Linked DNA regions of Homo sapiens: region 1 is linked to region 2. The links are contacts of gene promoters, found by promoter capture Hi-C in human tissues and cell types (Jung and others, 2019). All regions are on one chromosome and are shown on one strand. Each heading gives the region's core, a stretch centred on a gene start or on the middle of the fragment in contact. The rest is flanking DNA. Distances are from core to core; before and after follow the strand shown. Region 1 overlaps DENND2C (DENN domain containing 2C). Region 2 holds the start of AMPD1 (adenosine monophosphate deaminase 1).

Evidence for each region. Contacts are between HindIII fragments. The study calls those that stand out against the background at their distance.
Region 1: a contact is called between a fragment that was not itself captured here and the fragment with the promoter of AMPD1 in region 2, in 1 of the 25 tissues and cell types used here (psoas muscle).

What each region holds. Positions count from the first base shown.
Region 1 is chr1:114,643,181-114,647,831 of GRCh38, forward strand. It overlaps DENND2C (DENN domain containing 2C), which reads right to left. Exons shown (of 21, transcript NM_001256404.2): 3 at 2,268-2,379. Among named protein-coding and RNA genes, the nearest start is that of DENND2C, 25 kb to the right of the region's middle. The HindIII fragment of the contact is 5,072 bases long and covers 1-4,608 here.
Region 2 is chr1:114,691,868-114,697,047 of GRCh38, forward strand. AMPD1 (adenosine monophosphate deaminase 1) reads right to left here and starts at 3,679. Exons shown (of 16, transcript NM_000036.3): 1 at 3,583-3,679; 2 at 1,569-1,580. The coding sequence starts at 3,604. The HindIII fragment of the contact is 10,350 bases long and covers 1-5,180 here.

The DNA of each region.
Region 1 (4,651 bases), core at 823-3,322, 50 kb before region 2:
TAAACCTCAATCTCAGAATGTCACTCCTGAACTTGTTACAGCAGAGGATGCTAAGGCTTGTGTCAGGGAAAAAAATGAACAACATAAATTCTGCTCAGGAAGTTGGGTGGGAACTTGCACTGTTCGCATTATTTGGTTTTTCAAATTTCTATTACATTAACACATTATTTAATCGAAAGCCTCAATACATTTTTAATAAAGCCCACAGGAATATATCTTGCATAAGATTCTTCATTAAATGTGGCTAAAAATATTTTAAAACAAATAATAAAGGACCAGACTAATAGGGAAAAAAAGTGTCAAACAGGCTTCTACTTTTCAAACCTCTATCATCTTGTTGACTGTTCCTTGAATAACAAATCTTCAAAGCAAGCACATACAGGATACCAGCCTTTTATCTCACTCCTATCAGAGGAAACAGCCTTATAAGTAACTAAAAATGGTTCCCAAAATAACAAAGAAACTTTAAATAAACTCCTAATATTGCTTATAACACATAATATAAATTTCTCAAGCCATTACTGTGCCTATTAGTAAATCAAGAAATATGTAAGAATCTTTAAAAAATAAATTTAATTCTTTAACAGTTCCATCAAGTCTGTTGAGATATTTGTCATGGAAATTTTTTCAGGTTTTTTAAAATGAAAGAATGAAAAATGATAGCTGACATATGCAGATTATATTCAGAATTTTGAGGCATAAGCCAAAGACTTAGAATAATGCTAATTTCATGATTGTGTTACATGGTTGGTTATCCGCACTATTCATAAAACCTTCCAAATGACTACAATTCCTTTTCTTTGCTGTTTACTGATTGTAACGGGTACTACTGGAGGGTTTATTTGCCACAGCTACATGACCCTAGGTGTTATCCCCATAACTAATCCAATGGTAATTCCTGTTAACTCCACCTTTAAAACAAATCAAATTCCCACCACTTATCATCTTTACTGCTAACACACCAAACCAGGCCACCATCACTTCTTCCTCTCTCATTTTCTATTTCTAGTCAATTTTCACCTTCTGTGTTCATTCTATCTAAAATAAAGCTCCTTTTCCAACATGATTTTCTATGTCTTCACTCTGCTATATTTTCTCCATAGAACTTATCATTTATCTGAAATTGTGTTATTTATTTGTTTACTTCTCTCCCTCACTGGAATATAAGCTTTTTTACTACTGTATCCCCAGCACCCAGAAGAGTATGCACCATACAGTAATCCCTCAGTAAGTATTTGTTGAATGAATGACAAAATCCTAAATATAAGAATGCTTAAAAGGAAAAGGCTTACGAAAAATCTGCAGTGCCTATTACTTTAAGTGCCTCCAATGATTTGAAGCTGCCCCATTTGTAGAATGGGGAAGCTTCTTAGAATAGTTTAAGAATACGAGTAACACCAAAATAACTTATTTAAATAATTCACACCACAATAAGAATGTTTTTTGTATATTTACTATTTGCCAAGCACTACATGCATAATCTCATTCTATCCTCATAACAATCCTTAGAGGAAGATATCTTCATTTTCTAGATGAGGAAACTGAGGTTTAGCAAGTTTCGATGGCTTTCTAAGGTCATATACGTTGTTACAATTTGAAAAGCATAATTTAATAGCACATAACATACTACCTTCAGGATAGAAAGACATTTTGAGAAGGGGCAATATCTAAGTCAGGGGTCTCCAATGAAGAAAATAATTGATTTATATGTATTTATTTATAAATTGTAAACATAAAACTATAATAATATCATGAACATTATAAAGCATACTGAAACTAAAAATTTAAAGGCATGAGATTTAAAAAATCATTTTACTAGTTTAAATTAGTAAAAATTAAATATGTAAAAGGAGGGTATAGTAACCATTTCATTCTCACTGAAGTTTAACTACAAATATTTTGAGTAAGAGCAATGTGATTAAACGTGGTTTTTTTTGATACAGTGATTCAAAGATTTAGTCCAAAACTCAGTTTATTTCAATACTTGGTTCTAAGGGTGTTATAGATCGAACCGTGTCCCCTGAAAATTCATATGTTGAAGTCCTAACCCCCAGCACCTCAGAATATGACTGGATTTGGAGATCAGGTCTCTTGAGAGGTAATTAAGTTAAAATGAGGTCAGTAGGGTGGGCCTTAATCCAATGACTGGTGTACTTCGAAAAAAAGAGGAAACCTAGACACAGACAGACAGAGGGGAGACCATGTGAAGACACAGGGAGAAGACTGCTATCTACGAGCCAAGGAAACAGGCCTCACAAGAAACTTACCCTGTTGGCACCTTGATGTTAGATTTCTACAGCCTCCAGACTTGTGAGAATATCAATCTCTGGCGTTTGAACCACTCAATCTGCGGTATTTGGTTATGGTAGACCTAGCAAACTAATACAAAAGGCCACAGTAATAGAAAAAGATAACTCACCACAAATACATGGAAAACAATGAAAGAAGAGCTTCACTGACTGAATCAGAATACTTATTTGTCAATTCTATTCACCTTAAATTAAGCAAGGATTTTTGTTGAAATTTGACTAGTAAATTTTCATCTTCTCTAATGTTTATCATCTGTACTTTCAAACTAACTGAACATTTAAAAATTTTTAACAAACTGATTCAAAATCTAAGTGTGTAGATAGGAGAGCTTTACAGATAACACATTCTTTGTTTTGGGCAACATTAAGTAATAATTGATATATTATGAAATATCAAATTTTGTCTGCAAATCATGTTTCTTTAGAAAAACAATTTCTCATTCTTTTTTTTTTTTGAGACAGAGTCTCGCTCTGTCGCCCAGGCTGGAGTGCAGTGGCGCCGTTTTGGCTCACTGCAAGCTCTGCCTCCCGGGTTCACGCCATTCTCCTGCCTCAGCCTCCTGAATAGCTGGGACTACAGGCGCCCGCCACCACACCCGGCTAATTTTTTTGTATTTTTAGTAGAGACGGGGTTTCACCATGTTAGCCAGGATGGTCTCGATCTCCTGACCTTGTGATCCGCCTGCCTCAGCCTCCCAAAGTGCTGGGATTACAGGTGTGAGCCACTGCGCCCGGCCTGTTATTCATTGTTAAAACATCATGTTTACCTCGTAGGGACACACTGAACATGTTTAAGATAATTTTTTGCTGACAACCACTTGTCATTACAGAAAATCAACAATTTTAGAACACTTTTCTTTGGAAAAGGAAAATGGTGTGACATTTTAAGTTTTGCAACTTTAAAAAATACTTTTCCATAACGTAATCAAAAAACTAGTGTGCGATATATTTTCATGACTGTGACACTTCTCATTTTCAAAGGATTATAATGATTCTATTATTTAAGATATAATCTGTAAATCCACCTACTTGGACACATATGAACTGCTCTATGTTGCAACAGCTAAAAGTGCACAAACAAGTGAGGATGTCACCGCCAACTCCGTTTTGTTTGAGGGAATGTCTACTCTTCCCTTGGGGATCATTCCTTATATAAAGTCTGATCCAGAGAAAGCACCAGTGTCAAACTGTATATTAAATATTTAGAAAAGCTTAATTTATTTTTAGATGAAAATGAATACAAGTAGCATTTCTAATGCTTTTTTCACATCCTAATGTACCATCTTGTGTACCTCTGGTAGATCATGAGTCCATAATAAGGTATTCTGACTTACACATGCATTAGCTTTAATGTTCACCATTTCACCTAGGTAAACAGAGAATATTTAGGGCAGGCACGGTAGCTCATGCCTGTAATCCCAGCACTTTGGGAGGCTGAGGTGGGAGGATCACCTGAGGTCGGGAGTTTGAGACCAGCCTGGCCAACATGGCGAAACCCTGTCTCTACTAAAAATACAAAAATAAGCTGGACGTGGTGGTGCATGCCTGTAATCCCAGCTACTCAGGGGGCTGACGCAGGAGAACTGCTTCAACCCTGGAGGCACACAGGTTGCAGTGGGCCAAGATTGCACCACTGAACTCCAGCCTGGGCAAAAGAGTGAGATTCTATCTTAAAAAAAAAAAGAGAGAGAGAGAGAGAGAGAATATTCAGGGGTCTGCTAAAATAACCAGGTGGCCAAAAGTTGTATGAATATATAATGTAAACAACCCTTTCCTTTGTTTACTCAGAAGAAGGAAGAATTATTTCTTTTTTAATTTTTATTTTTAACTGATCAATTCCAATTGTGTATGTTTATGGAGTACAATGTGATTTTTTTTTTTTTTAGACAGAGTCTTGCTCTGTCACCGAGGCTGGGTGCGTGATCTCGACTCCCTGCAACCTCTGCCTCTCGGGTTCAATAATCCACTATTGTACAACCTGGTGACAATAGTCTCTAATATTCTCCTGGTTTCTCAAGCCATTTAGTTGGCTTCTAAATCACTTCTTTATACCATTAGGTAATGTTTGTGAAAGGAATGCACTGCCAAGTCTGGCTAATTTTTGTATTTTTAGTAGAGACGGGGTTTTGCCATGTTGGCCAGGCTGGTCTGTGACCCCTAACCTCAAGTGATTCGCCTGCCTCAGCCTCCCAAAGTGCTGAGATTACAGATGTGAGCCACTACGCCTGACCTGTATAGCATATATTTTAAATAATTATTACTTATTAAGTGTTTACATTTGCCAGGCACCATGCTATGTATCTACTTTCATTACTACTTTTAACTCTTTTTTTTTTTGAGAC
Region 2 (5,180 bases), core at 2,429-4,928:
TGAGCCGAGATTATGCTACTGCACTCCAGCCTGGGCGACAGAGCAAGACTCCGTCTCAAAAATAAAAATAAAAATTAAAATTAAAAAAAGAAAATGTGTGTATTAACAGCTGGATGGCCTTGGGCAAACCACATAATAACTGGGAGCCACAGTGTTCATCATCATAAAGGGGAATGTTAATAATAATAACGTCAACTTCAGAGAATTGTTATGAAGATTTAACAAAAAATACTTTAAAACTATGCAGTACTGTCCAGAAGTTGGAGATTACTATTATTAACACAGGAAGTGCAAGACTCTTGAGAAGATGAATATCATGCTTTCTTCTTAACAGGTCCAGAAAAACATGCTTGTTTCTCAGCAGTGCTTTATTAATGTGTAGGAAAGACAAGGTTGTAGGCCTTCGTCTGCCACATTTCATCTCCCAAAGGAATTCAGAGGCAGACCTACTATCAGTCAGCAAAAGGACAAGTCTAATTTGAGATTGAGGGGAATATACAACCAAAGTTATAGTTTTATCTCAAATAGGTTTTTAAGGCTGGGCACGGTGGCTCACGCCTGTAATCATAGCACTTTGGGAGGCTGAGGTGGGTGGATCACTTGAGGTCAGGAGTTCGAGACCAACCTGGCCAATGGTGAAACCTCGTCTCTACTAAAAATACAAAAATTAGTCAGATGGGTGGTGGGCACCTGTAAACTCAGCTACTCAGGAGGCTGAGGCAGGAGAATCACTTGAACCCAGGAGGCAGAGGTTGCAGTGAGCTATCGCACCACTGCACTCCAGCCTGGGCAACACAGCAAGACTCCATCTCAAAAAATAAATAAATAAACAAACAAATAAATAAAATAGGTTTTTATTTTATCTGGTCACAAAAATGAACAACAATTTTTTTTTTTTTTTTTGCGCTGGAGTTGCTTTACTAAGGCAAGATTCAATAGGCCCCTTTGGCTAATCTATGTCATTTATTTCAAAATATTAAACAGGCTGGGTGTGGTGGCCCACACCTGTAATCCCAGCACTTTGTGAGGCTGAAGCGGGCAGATCACTTGAGGTCAGGAGTTCGAGACCAGCCTGGCCAACATGGTGAAACCCTGTCTCTACTAAAAATTAACCAGGTGTGGTGGTGTGCACCTGTCATCTCAGCTACTCGGGAGGCTGAGGCAAGATAATTAGTTGAATCCGGGAGGCAAAGGTTGCGATGAGCAGAGCTCACACCTCTGCACTCCATCCTGGGTGACCATCCATCTCAAAATAAATAAATAAATAAATAAATAAATAAATAAATAAATAAATAAATAAGTAAAAGCACTGCATGAGGTTTTCTTTTAAAAAATTATATATAATTATATATATATATATGTTTATACACACACTAGAATCCAGAAAAGCCATGAGCTTATTTGCTATGCTATGGGATATCTATGGTCATTATGAATCTTTGTTGACTTTCAAGGCTATTATTTAATAAACACTGCTGAAAAATAGCCATGTTTCTGAATTAAGGAATAGTATCATTTTTTTAAATTGATACTCTGACAAATGGCAGCAAAAGTAATGCAATACTCACGTTTCTCTTCAGCTGTATGAAGTAAAATAAAACAAGATAAAATATGTGAACAACTTTCTGTAATCATGGTGGCTATTAATCACTGCTTTGGGGTAGACACATGTAGATTGCTGTTATTTCAGCTCAGCCTTCCAGCTTGTCTACAGTTTTCTGCCATCAGAAAGCTTGGGAATATGGTCATTATACAGCTCTTCATTTTCTTTTCTTTTCTAATATGTCTCTTAACATTTATAAGTATACTTTTTAAAAGGCACTCTCTATAAAATATGATTTTTAAAAATATCTGATGAAGAAAGATGGGAATGCTCATATGATGTTGGTAGTAGTAAACTTAAAACAGCTCATTTGGTAAACAATTTAGTAACACCTACCAAACAACCATTTCTGAGAAGCTATCCTACGGAAATCATCCTTAAACATGGAAAAAGCTTTAGGTGTCAATATTGTTATCAGAACATACTTATACTTAAAAAAACCATAAAGAGGCCGGGTGCAGTGGCTCACGCCTATAATCCTGGTACTATGGGAGGCCGAGGCTGGCAGATCATGAGGTCAGGAGATCGAGACCATCCTGGCTAATACAGATATTCACTGTGTTATATGTGAAACACCGTCTCTACTAAAAATATAAAAATTAGCCGGGCGTGGTGGCAGGCGCCTGTAGTCCCAACTACTCGGGAGACTGAGGCAGAATGGCATGAACCCGGGAGGTGGAGCTTGCAGTGAGCCAAGATCGCACCACTGCACTCCAGCCTGGGTGACAGAGCGAGACTCTGTCTCTAAAAAAACAAAAACAAAAACAAAAACGAACAAACAAAAAAAAACCCCCAAACCATAAAGAACCTAAGGGATTAATTAAGAAAATAGAATATGCAGTCTTTTAAAATGGTTTTTAGGAAAGGTTTGGGATACCATGGTAAAAGGATAAGTTGTAAAGTTAAGCCAAAACATTATCCTGCCAAAAGCAGGATATAAAATTACATGTGCAATATAATAACAGTGCCTTTTTAAAAAAAACTCTTTAATTTTACACAGAAAATAGATTGAAAAGAAAAAAAAACACTAAAATGTTAAGAGTGAATATCTTTGGATAATGGATGTGCAGATTTTTAAAATTATTACTTTTGGCTGGGTGCAGTGGCTAACACTTGTAATCCCAGCACTTTGGGAGGCTGAGGCAGGCAGATTGCTTGAGCTCAGGAGTTTAAGATGAGCCTGGGCAACATAGCGAAACCCTGTCTCTACAGAAAATACAAAAACTAGCTGGGCGTGGTGGCAAGTGCCTGTAGTCCCAGCTACTCGGGAGGCTGAGGTGGGAGGATCACCAGATCCCAGAAGATTGGGGCTGCAGTGAATCGTGATCGTGCCACTGCACTCCAGCCTGGGCAACAGAGTGACACCCTGTCTCAAAAAATAAATAAATAAGTAAAAAATAAAATTATTACTTTTACTGAATTTCCCAACTTTCAAAACGAATGTTTATTACTTTTATTTTTTCAGCACAATTTCTATTTCACATGAAACATGTATTGCTTTTATCATTTAAAAATTATAACATTATTATTTTAAAAATTACTCTGCGTACAAACCTGGACAACAGAAAGCTATTCTCGTGAACCATCAGAATACACACATGGGTTATTTTTGTCATGTTCATGATTTTCAGCCAATACCATAGCTAGAGTCATTATGTAGAAGCCGTCTCAGAGCTATGGCAGCACAGGTTTTGTTTAGACTAGCAGAATAGATATTAAATATTTCACAGAGTTTTCTACTGGGATCATCAAAGATGCAATATACATGATAACAGTTTTAGAAACTTACCCACATCCCAAAACTAAAAACAAACAAAAAACCCTTGAAAATATTTTGTGTTTTCCTGAAATGTATGTTAAAGCTATCACGAACCCTAAATGAATGATCAAAGCTGATATGGTAGCTAAAGGAACAGTTGCTTGTCAAAAAAAAAAAAAAACAACAACAACTGAGCTCTCCAAACACTTTGTACACCTACCTGGGAGTTTGAACAGAGGCATTGTTGCTGAAATCCTTGATTCTAGGATAGCACAGTAGAAAAGAAGAGAGAGGAGACTGTGGGGTGACTGACTGACACTATAAAATATCCTGACATTCATTTTATTATTTTGCTTTGCCCCCGGAAATTTGATTCTTCTCTGCTAAGTGGAGAGAGATGAGCTTTGGACCTATTTATAGCTTGAGGCATTTGATAGTGAAAAACAGGTGAAGCTTTCAGTCTTTACTTTGGGATTAGAAGATATCTGTGGTGGGCCAAAAATTGCATTTCAATACTCTCTAAATCTTCTTACAGACTGGATCTTTGGCAAGTGTAGGACCACTGATGGTGATATCCCACCCTAGTGAAATACAGTGAAGTCTTTCCGGTTTCTGAAGCTATGATCCTCAGGGTTTCACATCACGCAAACAGCTTTCTGTGGTTGGTGAATATGCTGGTACATTCATCAAGCTCTCAACAGACACACACGCACACGCACACACGCTCAGGAATGCATGTTTTTATTAGTAATGTGTCTGACTTAGCAGAACTTCAGTTGACAGTTTAATGAATTAAGTGTTAAATTTACTTCAAGTCTTTTACAGAAACTCAACTGTCCTCCAGAGTATCCAGTTACCACTTCTCTACCTATTGTTATAATAAGAACAATAGCTTTGTTTTGTATAACATTTTATTGTATGTAAAACATTTGGCAAACATTATCTATTTGATACTAATTACAATCCTGTAAGGCAAGTAATACCTTATCCCTGTTTCCCAAATAAGAAAACTGGGGCTCTGACAGGTATCTTGCTCAAAGTCATTCTGTTCATCATAAATGGCAAAGCCAAGGCTCTCTGGACCCAAATCTCACGCTCTTTCCATAATAACACACAGTCTTAGTTATGACTGTATATATGTGTGTGTATATATATGTATATATGTATATATATGTGTATATACATATATTTTTTTCGAGACAGAGTCTCGCTCTGTTGCCCGGGCTGGAGTGCAGTGGCGCGATCTCGGCTCACTGCAAGCTCTGCCTCCCGGGTTCACGCCATTCTCTTGCCTGAGCCTCCCGAGTAGCTGGGACTACAGGCGCCTGCCACCATGCCCGGCTAATATTTTTTGTATTTTTAGTAGAGATGTGGTTTCACTGTGTTAGCCAGGATGGTCTTGATCTCCTGACCTCATGATCCACCTGCCTTGGCCTCCCAAAGTGCTGGGATTACAGGCGTGAGCCACTGCGCCCGGCCAGTTATGACTAAATATTTGATAGTTGCTGCTAGGTAAAGAAAGTACGCTGCTAGACTCAGCAGAAATTTTAAATTATAACAGCTTATATTGAAGATGAGCTTGGCACTTCAGATTAGCAACAGAATTATGGGCATAGACCAAATGATCTTTTTACTATTAACTATTTCTTTTTGAAAATTGGGACAAGCCTTTTTGTTGGCAAAACTTAACAATATTTTAGTGCTTAGCCTTATGGCCAACCTCTCAATCAACAATATTGCAACACATTACAAAGGTGTTACTGAACCAAAATATTTGTTCATTTCTTTCCAACTCCTTTTTGTTACATTTTTACCTGG